2 separate regions of the Homo sapiens genome follow, and region 1 is linked to region 2. The links are contacts of gene promoters, found by promoter capture Hi-C in human tissues and cell types (Jung and others, 2019). All regions are on one chromosome and are shown on one strand. Each heading gives the region's core, a stretch centred on a gene start or on the middle of the fragment in contact. The rest is flanking DNA. Distances are from core to core; before and after follow the strand shown. Region 1 holds the start of NUP98 (nucleoporin 98 and 96 precursor). Region 2 holds the start of OSBPL5 (oxysterol binding protein like 5).

Region 1 (4,538 bases), core at 1,263-3,762, 630 kb after region 2:
CACATAAATCATATTACAAGAAAATAATATAATTTTTTCAAAGCCGTAAATTTAGTTCCTTAAAAATTCTACTTGCTCTTAGTTATCTAGGACCTAGTAGACATAAAGTCAGGTACTGGCTGGGCACAGTGGCTCATACCTGTAATCCCAGCACTTTGGGAGGCCGAGGTGGGGGATGGCTTGAGCCCAGGAATTCGATACCAGCCTGGGCAACATAGCGAAACCCTGTCTCTACCCAAAATATACAAAAAAATATTAGCTGGGTATGGTGGTGCACACCTGTGGTCTCAGCTACTTGGGAGGCTGAGGTGGGAAGATTGCTTGAGCCCAGGAGGTAGAGGCTACTGTGAACCGAGATTGCGCCACTGCACTCTAGCCTGGGTGATGGAGTGAGACCCTATCTCATAAATAAATAAACAAATAAATGTCAGGGACCAAAGTATCACATAACATATAAACAGCAGGAACTATCTTATCTGGGCCCCATATTTCAGGAGCCTCTCTATTGACTACTGTTAGGTATAACTCCTCCATATTTGTCTATTCATTCAAGTAAACACACTTACTGAGGGCCTACTATGTGGCAAGCAACTGGACAACAAAGATAAGATGAAAATATTTTACCAGCCTAATTAAAAAAACAGCTAAAATAAAAATGATATGTGCTATAAATAGAAATATCAAATAAGTGTTATGGAAGCTTGCAGAGAAGAGAATGCCAAGAAAAGCTTCCCAGAAGAGGGTGATGCCTGAACTGAGAAAATGTCACGGAAAACATACCCTGTTCACGCTTTACTATTTAGACTACGGTTCTCTTCTGCACTACTAGTTCTGAGTTTATGCTTTGTCATCTATACAAGAACAAAGTAACAATCTTACTGATGTGTACAGAACCAAGTGTCAACTAATTCAATTTCATCAAATCTGAAGAGTCAAAAAGAATAATTTTACCCAAGTATTTCCCAGTACCTTTATCCTGTCCAACCTCTAGTTTTGGTTTTTAAATACCCTAACTTCCTCCACCAGGTAAACATACTGTAACCCAGTTAACTCGAGTTTCTTTTCGAATTTGTAAGACCGTCACAGGGAATGATCACTGCTCTCTTTTTGCTCTTTATTCCAGTTAGCTTCTTCCTCCAAAACGGAGTTTTATTTCCTCACCTTATTCTACTATAATACTTCACTTTGAATTCTGTACCTGAAAGGAGCCATGAGTTCCGAGGTACAACTACTACAAACGGACTCCTACCTGGCTTTCTAAGTCTTATCAATATTTCCTGCTTTCTATTCCAGTACTGTTATAAATCCCTAACTGACTCCGAGTCCTCATCAGCTGACACAAGTCAAAAAATTCAGATTTAGAAAGGGAAACAATGGCTTGTAGTTTTACCGATTTGTTTCCGATACATAACAACGCTGACGTTCTTTAACCATCTTCTAAGTTTAGTTCTCAAGCTCTAGGTTAGGGTACCACTAACGAAGCTTCCACCTTACCCGTGAACAGAGCTGGTAGCAACTAAACGGAAAACGCTGTGAAGACTACATCTACGTTTAGCTACCTAATGTCCATGCCGCACCGACCTCCTAAAGGGAATTCTTAATAATGGGAGACTGAAATATCCAGGGAGGGTGAGGTAGTAGAAAACTGTTTAGACTGTCAAAAATCTGGCATTGGCTAATCCTGCCTGTTACTCCGGGCCTCGGTTTCCCCATCTACAAAACTGATGTAAGGTAGGGGGATTGACTTAAACAATTTCTAAAGTCCTTATGGCTATAGTAATCCAGAAACTCAATCTGTCTCCTCATCTGGCTTTACACTGAACACGTGGGAAAATAGAAAAGAACCTTTTGCTCCACCGAACCGACTCCTATTCTCAGATATTATCTTAAAAATCTCCCAAACTTCGGACTCACCCTAATCCTCGGGGTGCCCACTTCCCTTATGGAGAAGCCAAGGCAAATAAAGCCCAGTCCCACATGACGGTCAAGGAAGTGCGGGGCAGACCGTATTCAGGGTTTCAAGGCGCTGACCCCGGAAAGGCCAGCCCACCGTGGGGTCCTTACACCACTGAATGAATGAGTACAACCAGACAGACACCCACTCGCGTGGGCAGCAACTGGAGACCTCCAGGCCTAGACCCCACTGATGTCCATTCTCTCCCAGGGCCTCCAAAGCCGGGCCTCCCGGGCTCCGGGCCCCCGGGTCCTCAGCACCGCCCCTCTCTCAGGCCAGAAGGTGCGCGCAGCGGCGCTAGACTTCGAAGCGGAGAGGCCCTGAGACGCCCCGCGCGTCCGCCCGCCCGGAAGGGGGGAGAAACCTGCCGGTCTCGGCCGCTGCAGCTCGGGCTCCCGACTTACCGCGGTTCGGTGGGGAAGGGGAAGTGTCAGGAGTCCCCTGCTGCCACCCGCCGCTCACAGAGCAGCGCGCGGCCCCCACGAAACCGTCGCCGCCGCCGCTACCACCCCTGCCACCGACCGCCGCTTCGGGCGCAGCGCGCAGAGGGCCCGACTGCGTCACACGCCGCCCGGCGTCAGAGGCTCGTTGCGGACGCTCCGCCCTCGCCGTCCGCGAATTGGTGGACGCGGCCGCCACTCTGGGTCGACCCTGTTATTCATTGGGCAACGCGTCTTTTGAAACCGAACTGAAGGGGGAAGGGGCGAGAGGGAAGAGGAGGGGCAGAAGGAGTTCGGGGAGGCACAGGGTAGGAGCGGTGAGAGGGCCGTGGAGTCCCGCCCCTCGCCGCCGCGGTTGGCGGGAGCGTGTCGTGACGTCACACAGGGCCTCTCGAAGTGGGCTTGTGAATGGCTAGATTGGGAAGCACCGGCGGGGTGTCGGGAAGGGTGGTGACGCAACATAGAGACTCCGCCCCCTTCCTTGGAGCGCCGCGACTCGGGCTGAGGGAGCTCGGGCCAATCAGAGGGACGGCCCCAGAATGGCATGGTAACTATTCGACCCTTTCCTTGCCCCGGTCCGCCGGCGCTGCTGGGAAGGCTTCCTAGTCTCTCTGCCCGCACTTCCCGCCCAGACCACGTGCGGAGCCTGAGGGCCCTCTTGGAAGGTCTGTCTGTCCAAAGAGTTTGCCCGAGGCTTCTTCAGGGCCCTAAATCCTGACCCTATTCTCTCCTGACCCATGCTCGCCCCAGCACTTTCTTTCCCTCCCTGAATTTCTAGGATGGACATTAGGAGCATTAGAGATGCCCTAAGGGACTGGCCCACCAAAGGGCCTGGTACAAATGAGGATTGTTGGAACGTCTTTCCCAGCTGCACGTGGAGAACCCCTAATTCTTTTTTTTTCTTTTTCTTTTGAGATGAAGTCTCGCGTTGTCGCCTAGGGTGGAGTGCATTGGCGCAATCTCGGCTCACTGCAACCTCTGCCTCCCGGGTTCAAGCGATTCTCCCGCCTTAGCCTCCCAAGTAGCTGGGATTACAGGCGTCCGCCACCAGGCCCAGCTAATTTTTGTATTTATAGTAGAGACGGGGATTTCACTGTGTTGGTCAGGCTGGTCTCGAACTCCTGATCTCAAGTGATCCACCCGCCTCGGCCTCCCAAAGTGCTGGGATTACAGACGTGAGCCACCTCGCCCATGAACTAATTTTTTTTTTTTTTTTTGAGATGGAGTCTTGCTCTGTCTCCTCTTTCTCCCAGGCTGGAGTGCAGTGGCACGATCTCGGCTCACTGCAATCTCCGCCTCCCAGGTACAAGAGAGTCTCCTGTCGTAGCCTCCCGAGTAGCTGGGATTACAGGCACTCGCCGCCGCGCCCAGCTGATTTTGTATTTTTAGTAGAGATGGGGTTTCACCATGTTGGCCAGGCTGGTCTCGAACTCCGGAACTCAGGTGATCCGCCCGCCTCGGCCTCCCACAGTGCTGGCCTTACAGGCGTGAGCCACCGCGCCCAGCCGAACCCCTACTTATTCTTAAAGGACGGGTATTTCAAATGTTCCCATCTTCTCAGTGATACATTTGCCAAGCTTTCACAGCGAGTTGAGCTAATGCTTGGGCAGGCCTCTGTTAAAGCCTTGTCACTTTGTATCCTATTATTTACCCTCGGTTTTCTGTGCCTTGGGCTCTTCTTGGAAGTCCTTCTGGGGCCTAGCCCATTAGCAGAAAACTGATATTACAAGAGTGAAAGGTGGGCATTTTCTAGAAACTAGACCTGTTTAGTGACTGAGAGTCTCATAGCAGGAACTGTGCGCAGAAAGCAAAGCGTATACTGGCCGGGCTGGTGGCTCATGCCTGTAATCCCAGCACTTTGGGATGCTGAGGCGGGCAGATTATTTGAGGCCAGGAGTTCGAGACCAGCCTGGCCAACATGATGAAACCCTGTCTCTACTAAGAATACAAAAATTGGTCAAGCATGGTGGTGGGCACCTATAATCCCAGCTGCTTCTCGGTTTGCTGAGGCACGAGAATGGCTTGAACCAGGGAGGCGGAGATTACAGTGAGTGGAGATCCTGCCACTGCGCTCCAGAGTGATCTCAAAAAAAATTTTTAAAAAACCTCCACCACTACTCCTTTGTGAGACATGAATGCAAAAT
Region 2 (4,296 bases), core at 574-3,073:
GCATTCTCAGCATAGTAAATACAATCCTGGGTAGGGGTTGGGTGGGGGGGGCGGTCTTGCGTTGGTATTCTGTAAAGAGCTGAAAGCAGTCCTTTGAAGAACATGGCCTATTCATGGCCCAATCTGGACCCAGAAAGGAGCCTCCACTGGACATGCAGGATGGCTGCCCGGGGTTCGACATCTGCAGGGCAGCCTCTCTGAGACCAGGCCCAGGACTGCAGGTCAGAGGCTCCTCATCCGGCCTATCTGCTGTGTCACCTTTCTTAAACACAGCCTGGCAAGACAGACACACGCGGTGCCTGCCTCCTGGCACCCCAGGCCAGCCCCACACGCGTGCAGGCAGACAATAGGATCTGCAGTTCTGGAGCCTGAGACCAGAAGGGAGCAGCTGGGCACATGATGCCACCCCAGGTTGCCACAAACCTGCCCGATGCCTGCAAAGCCCCCACTCACCTGGCAGGTTCAAGGAACAGCAAGGCCCTGTGTACCAAGGAGGTGGGATAAAAACGTGCAGAGGGGCCTTACTCCTGGGGTTGGGGAGCAGAGTTTCTGTTCAGTCTGGGATCTGGATCAGCCCTGGTGCAGGCAGACCCAAGAGCATCTATCTAGGATCCCAAAGGCTGGCCCACTTCTCCAGGCTTTGGGAGGCTGTATCAGGTGGGGTGGGACCCTTACAGAAGTCTTCCTGTAAAAGGCACCTTGAAGAGACTGGGGCAGACACACAGAGGGGAGCAAGTTGCGAAACGGCAAGAGAGGAAATCCACCCAGCCGCTTCGGCGGGGCAGACCCGCTCAGCCCAAGGATGAGGGAGGGGCTGGGCTCAGCCCAGGGACGAGGGAGGGGCAGGTAAGCCCACCCTGTGACCCCTCCATACCCCCAGGAGTCACCCCAAACCCTAACTCCAGTTGGCTTCTGACAGGAGGCAGCCCAGCGGTCTGGGTGGGGGTTGGGGGCGGTGCCTGGGAAGCCCAGGACGGGCCTGTTGCCCGGGGGGCTGCAGACTCCAGCCTCCTTCCTGCCTGCCCCACCCTCCTGCACCCCGCTCCCCGGGAGGAATCTTCAAGTGCACAAGACCCTCTTGAGGACTCAGGCACCTCAACAATCCCTAAGGCTCCACATCTTCAGGGGGTCAGTGCCCCAGAGATGGGGGCTGTGGGCAAGGTCCTTCCCTAGCCTGTAATCCAGGCAGCCCCCTGACTCTGCGGACTCAGACACAGCAGTCCTCCCAAGCCCGCAGCTGGGACGCCAGACTCAGATCCCAGACCCCCTGCAGACCCATCAAGACCTGGCTCCTTGGAGCCCGCGTCGGCCGAGCTGGGGGGACAGACCCCCTGATTGGCCAGGGTTTGTGGTGGTCAGACCCAGCCACCTTCCCTGGCGGTCCCGGCTCCTTTAAGCCCCACCAAGTGGGGAGCCGAGCTGGGCGCGCCGCTTCCCACTCGCGGGCCCCACCCGCCCCAACCCGCCAGGCGCCGACCCGTCCTGGCCCGGGGCGCCCCCAGGCTCCCGCGCTCCCCAGCTCCCCAGCGCGCGACCGGCCCCGCGGCGTGGTTCCCCGCACTGGCTACTGCCAGGGTCCGCGGGGCTGCGGCGCGAGCTCCTGGATCCCTTCGGCCGGCCCCCCGCGGCCCTCGGTTCGCTCCGGCCCTGCCCGGCGGGGCCCTCCGGATCCTTCCCAGCCCGCCATCCCCCCGCCGCCCTGCCGCCCCCCGGGCCGCCGCGCTCCTACCTCCTACCGTGCCGCGAGCTCGGTGCTCCGGGCCGGCCGGGCGCGCGGGGGCTCCACTGGCGGCGCGGGCCTGGCTGCAGGAAATGCCAGCAGATGGTCCCCCCGCGCGAGGCGGAGCGAGGGCGCGGCGGAGGGAGGAGGCCCAGGGAGCCCGGAGGCGGGAGGAGGAGGCGCGGCGGCCGCAAAACCCGGGCCGAATCGCCGCGCGGAGCGGGCGCCCAGGGGCTGCCCCCCACCGGCTGCCGCTTCTCCTCATCCCCCAACCCCCCGCGCGCGCTCCGGGGCTCACACCCACCCGGGCGGCCAGAGGTCGGGACACTCCGCTGAAAATGGCCAGGAGGCTTGGCGGGGTGGGCAGCGGTGAGTGGGGTCAGCTTCGTGGGGTTCTCCAACTTAGGGGTGCAGGCCCCCAGCCCACCCTAGCCAGGGTGCGAGGCGCCTCCTCTCCCTTCCTGAACCCAGGAAACTGTCGCCGTTTCTCCCCGTCTCAGGAGCCATCAGAACACAAGAGGAGCCCCAGACATCTGAGCCCGTTGTCCCTGCCCCTTATGTGCTAAGAAGGACCCTCAGTCACACTCTAACTGTACGTCTTTCTCAGGACCCTTTTGACAAGAACCTCCCCTCATGTGCATTTCTTCCTGTGTTTTCTCCTCACCTTCTTCTACCCCCCAGAGACCTTTTTAGACCCCTCAGTTCTCTTGTATATAAAAGACATTCTAATTCCCCTAAACAGCATCCCCTTGGGAGCTGAGAAGTCCTCCCCTGGCCCCTGGCTCCCTGCCTGTAGACCCTAAATTGGGTGTGGGCCCAGGGCTGGCCCCAGGGCGTTTGCATCCCTAGTGTCCAAGCCTGAGGTGCACTGCAGGTCCTTCCTATGGTATGTCCCCAAATGACCAGAAAAACTGGGAGCTGGGCTCGGGCATCCCCAGATGTAGGTAGACCCCAAGAGGGCGTGGAGTCTTTTCCACACAGAACCTTAACAGGGACAGAACTGACCCTCCGCAGAGAGCCCTGGGCTCCTCCCCAGGCAGAACTGCCACTGACACGTGTGTTTCTACGGTTTCACGCTGCAGTTGCATTCGGGAGGCCGCAAGCCTGGCTATCATGGGCGTCTGCAAGACCTCCCAGCAGGGCTGCGGAGGGCGAGCGGCCCAGGAAGGCTCCTTCCAGCACCTGAAGGGGGAACGGCACAGCATGCAGGTGCTCTGCCCACAACAAGCCAGACCCCTTCCCGTCTCAGCCCTGGCCTTGCCCACCCCGTTAGACAAGTTGGTGGGTATCCTCCTGGGGATAGCAGCACCAGCCGCTTGTGTGCGGATCACAGGAACCCACGGCTTACGGAGGCGAGTGGGCTGATCGGACTTGCCCTAAGCTTACCCCCAGGGCTAGCATTGCCATTCCATAGTCACCTTGTGAGGCCTTGGGATGCAGAACTGCTCAGTCAAGATGCTCAGGGCCATGGTGGGACCCTGCTCCGCGTGGCCTGTGGCAGGCGGCCTCTGCCTCTGCAGGAGAGGGTCTGTGCAGCTGGGATCCACATACAACTGCTGGGTCTGCTCTTTGAAGACTCCGCCCAAAGCTGAGGTGCTGCTGCCTGGTAACTTGCTGGTTGCTGGAGCCAATCCAAAGGGAATTAGGGAAGAAAACAAAGCCCCTATCCCTAGGGCGGAGGTCTCAGGGGCGGCAGTAGGGAAGGTTGCCAGTTGCTTGATGCTGGCTGTCCAGGGCCTGGGTTTCATGAAATGACACTGCTGAGGGCAGAGGTCAAAAGTCAAAGAGGCACCTGAGGGTGGGGGAAGGGGCCATAGATGACAGCAGGGTGGGGCTGGGGTGGAGCAGGACGAGGGTTGAGCCTCTCACTGGGTAGTGTCTGACAGCCAGATGGCCATGCAAGAAATGAAGAACACGCCACCTGCCAGGCTCAGTGACAGGTGTCAGTTGTCTGCCCCACTTCCCAGCAGGCTCTGCATTTTTCCAGAAAGCCCCATTTCCAGCCTCTTGCCTGGTTTTGGAGAGGCAGTGAGCCGAAGAGGTTGCCCCCAGCAAGAGGTAGGTCCGAATCCTGCTGCTGCCAGAAAGAAGCTCTGTCACCAGGCAGTGGCTTGTTCCTCCTGGGACCCCGCTTCCTCTCCTGTCAGATGGACACAGCATCTGTGCCTGGTGGCCAACGCAGGAAATGAAGGCGTCAGAGGTCTCAGAGATGGGCAGAGCCAGGTGCCAATGGCACCAGCTTTAGGGGGGCACGCCCAGTAGGCCCCACCATCCAGGAGCCCTTGAGCAGGTTTGTGCAACTGGCCGTGCCTCAGTTTCCTCATCTATAAATGGCGATGACCAGAGCAGTTTCCGCTGCATGAGCTGCCATAAGTCCCCAGTGGGCCAACAGACTTTGCAAGCGCTGGCTGTTGGTGGGCACTGGGGACCATGAGTGGACTATGGGAAGGAACGGCTTGCAGCGCCCAGCTGGTTAGTTTGGAATTTATGGTAATTCAGAAAAATATGTCTGTGATAAGTAAGAACTTAAAAAATGCTTTGCAAGGACAGTGCAATTTAAAATCAGGGCAGTTCCA

What was found. Contacts are between HindIII fragments. The study calls those that stand out against the background at their distance.
Region 1: a contact is called between the fragment with the promoter of NUP98 here and the fragment with the promoter of OSBPL5 in region 2, in 1 of the 25 tissues and cell types used here (mesendoderm cells).

What each region holds. Positions count from the first base shown.
Region 1 is chr11:3,795,042-3,799,579 of GRCh38, forward strand. NUP98 (nucleoporin 98 and 96 precursor) reads right to left here and starts at 2,513. Exons shown (of 33, transcript NM_016320.5): 1 at 2,359-2,513. It also overlaps a transcript of PGAP2 not described here. RefSeq lists silencers at 2,190-2,279, 2,360-2,529. The HindIII fragment of the contact is 8,862 bases long and covers 1,106-4,538 here.
Region 2 is chr11:3,163,487-3,167,782 of GRCh38, forward strand. OSBPL5 (oxysterol binding protein like 5) reads right to left here and starts at 1,824. Exons shown (of 22, transcript NM_020896.4): 1 at 1,730-1,824. RefSeq lists enhancers at 1-562, 2,306-3,018. The HindIII fragment of the contact is 28,319 bases long and covers 1-4,296 here.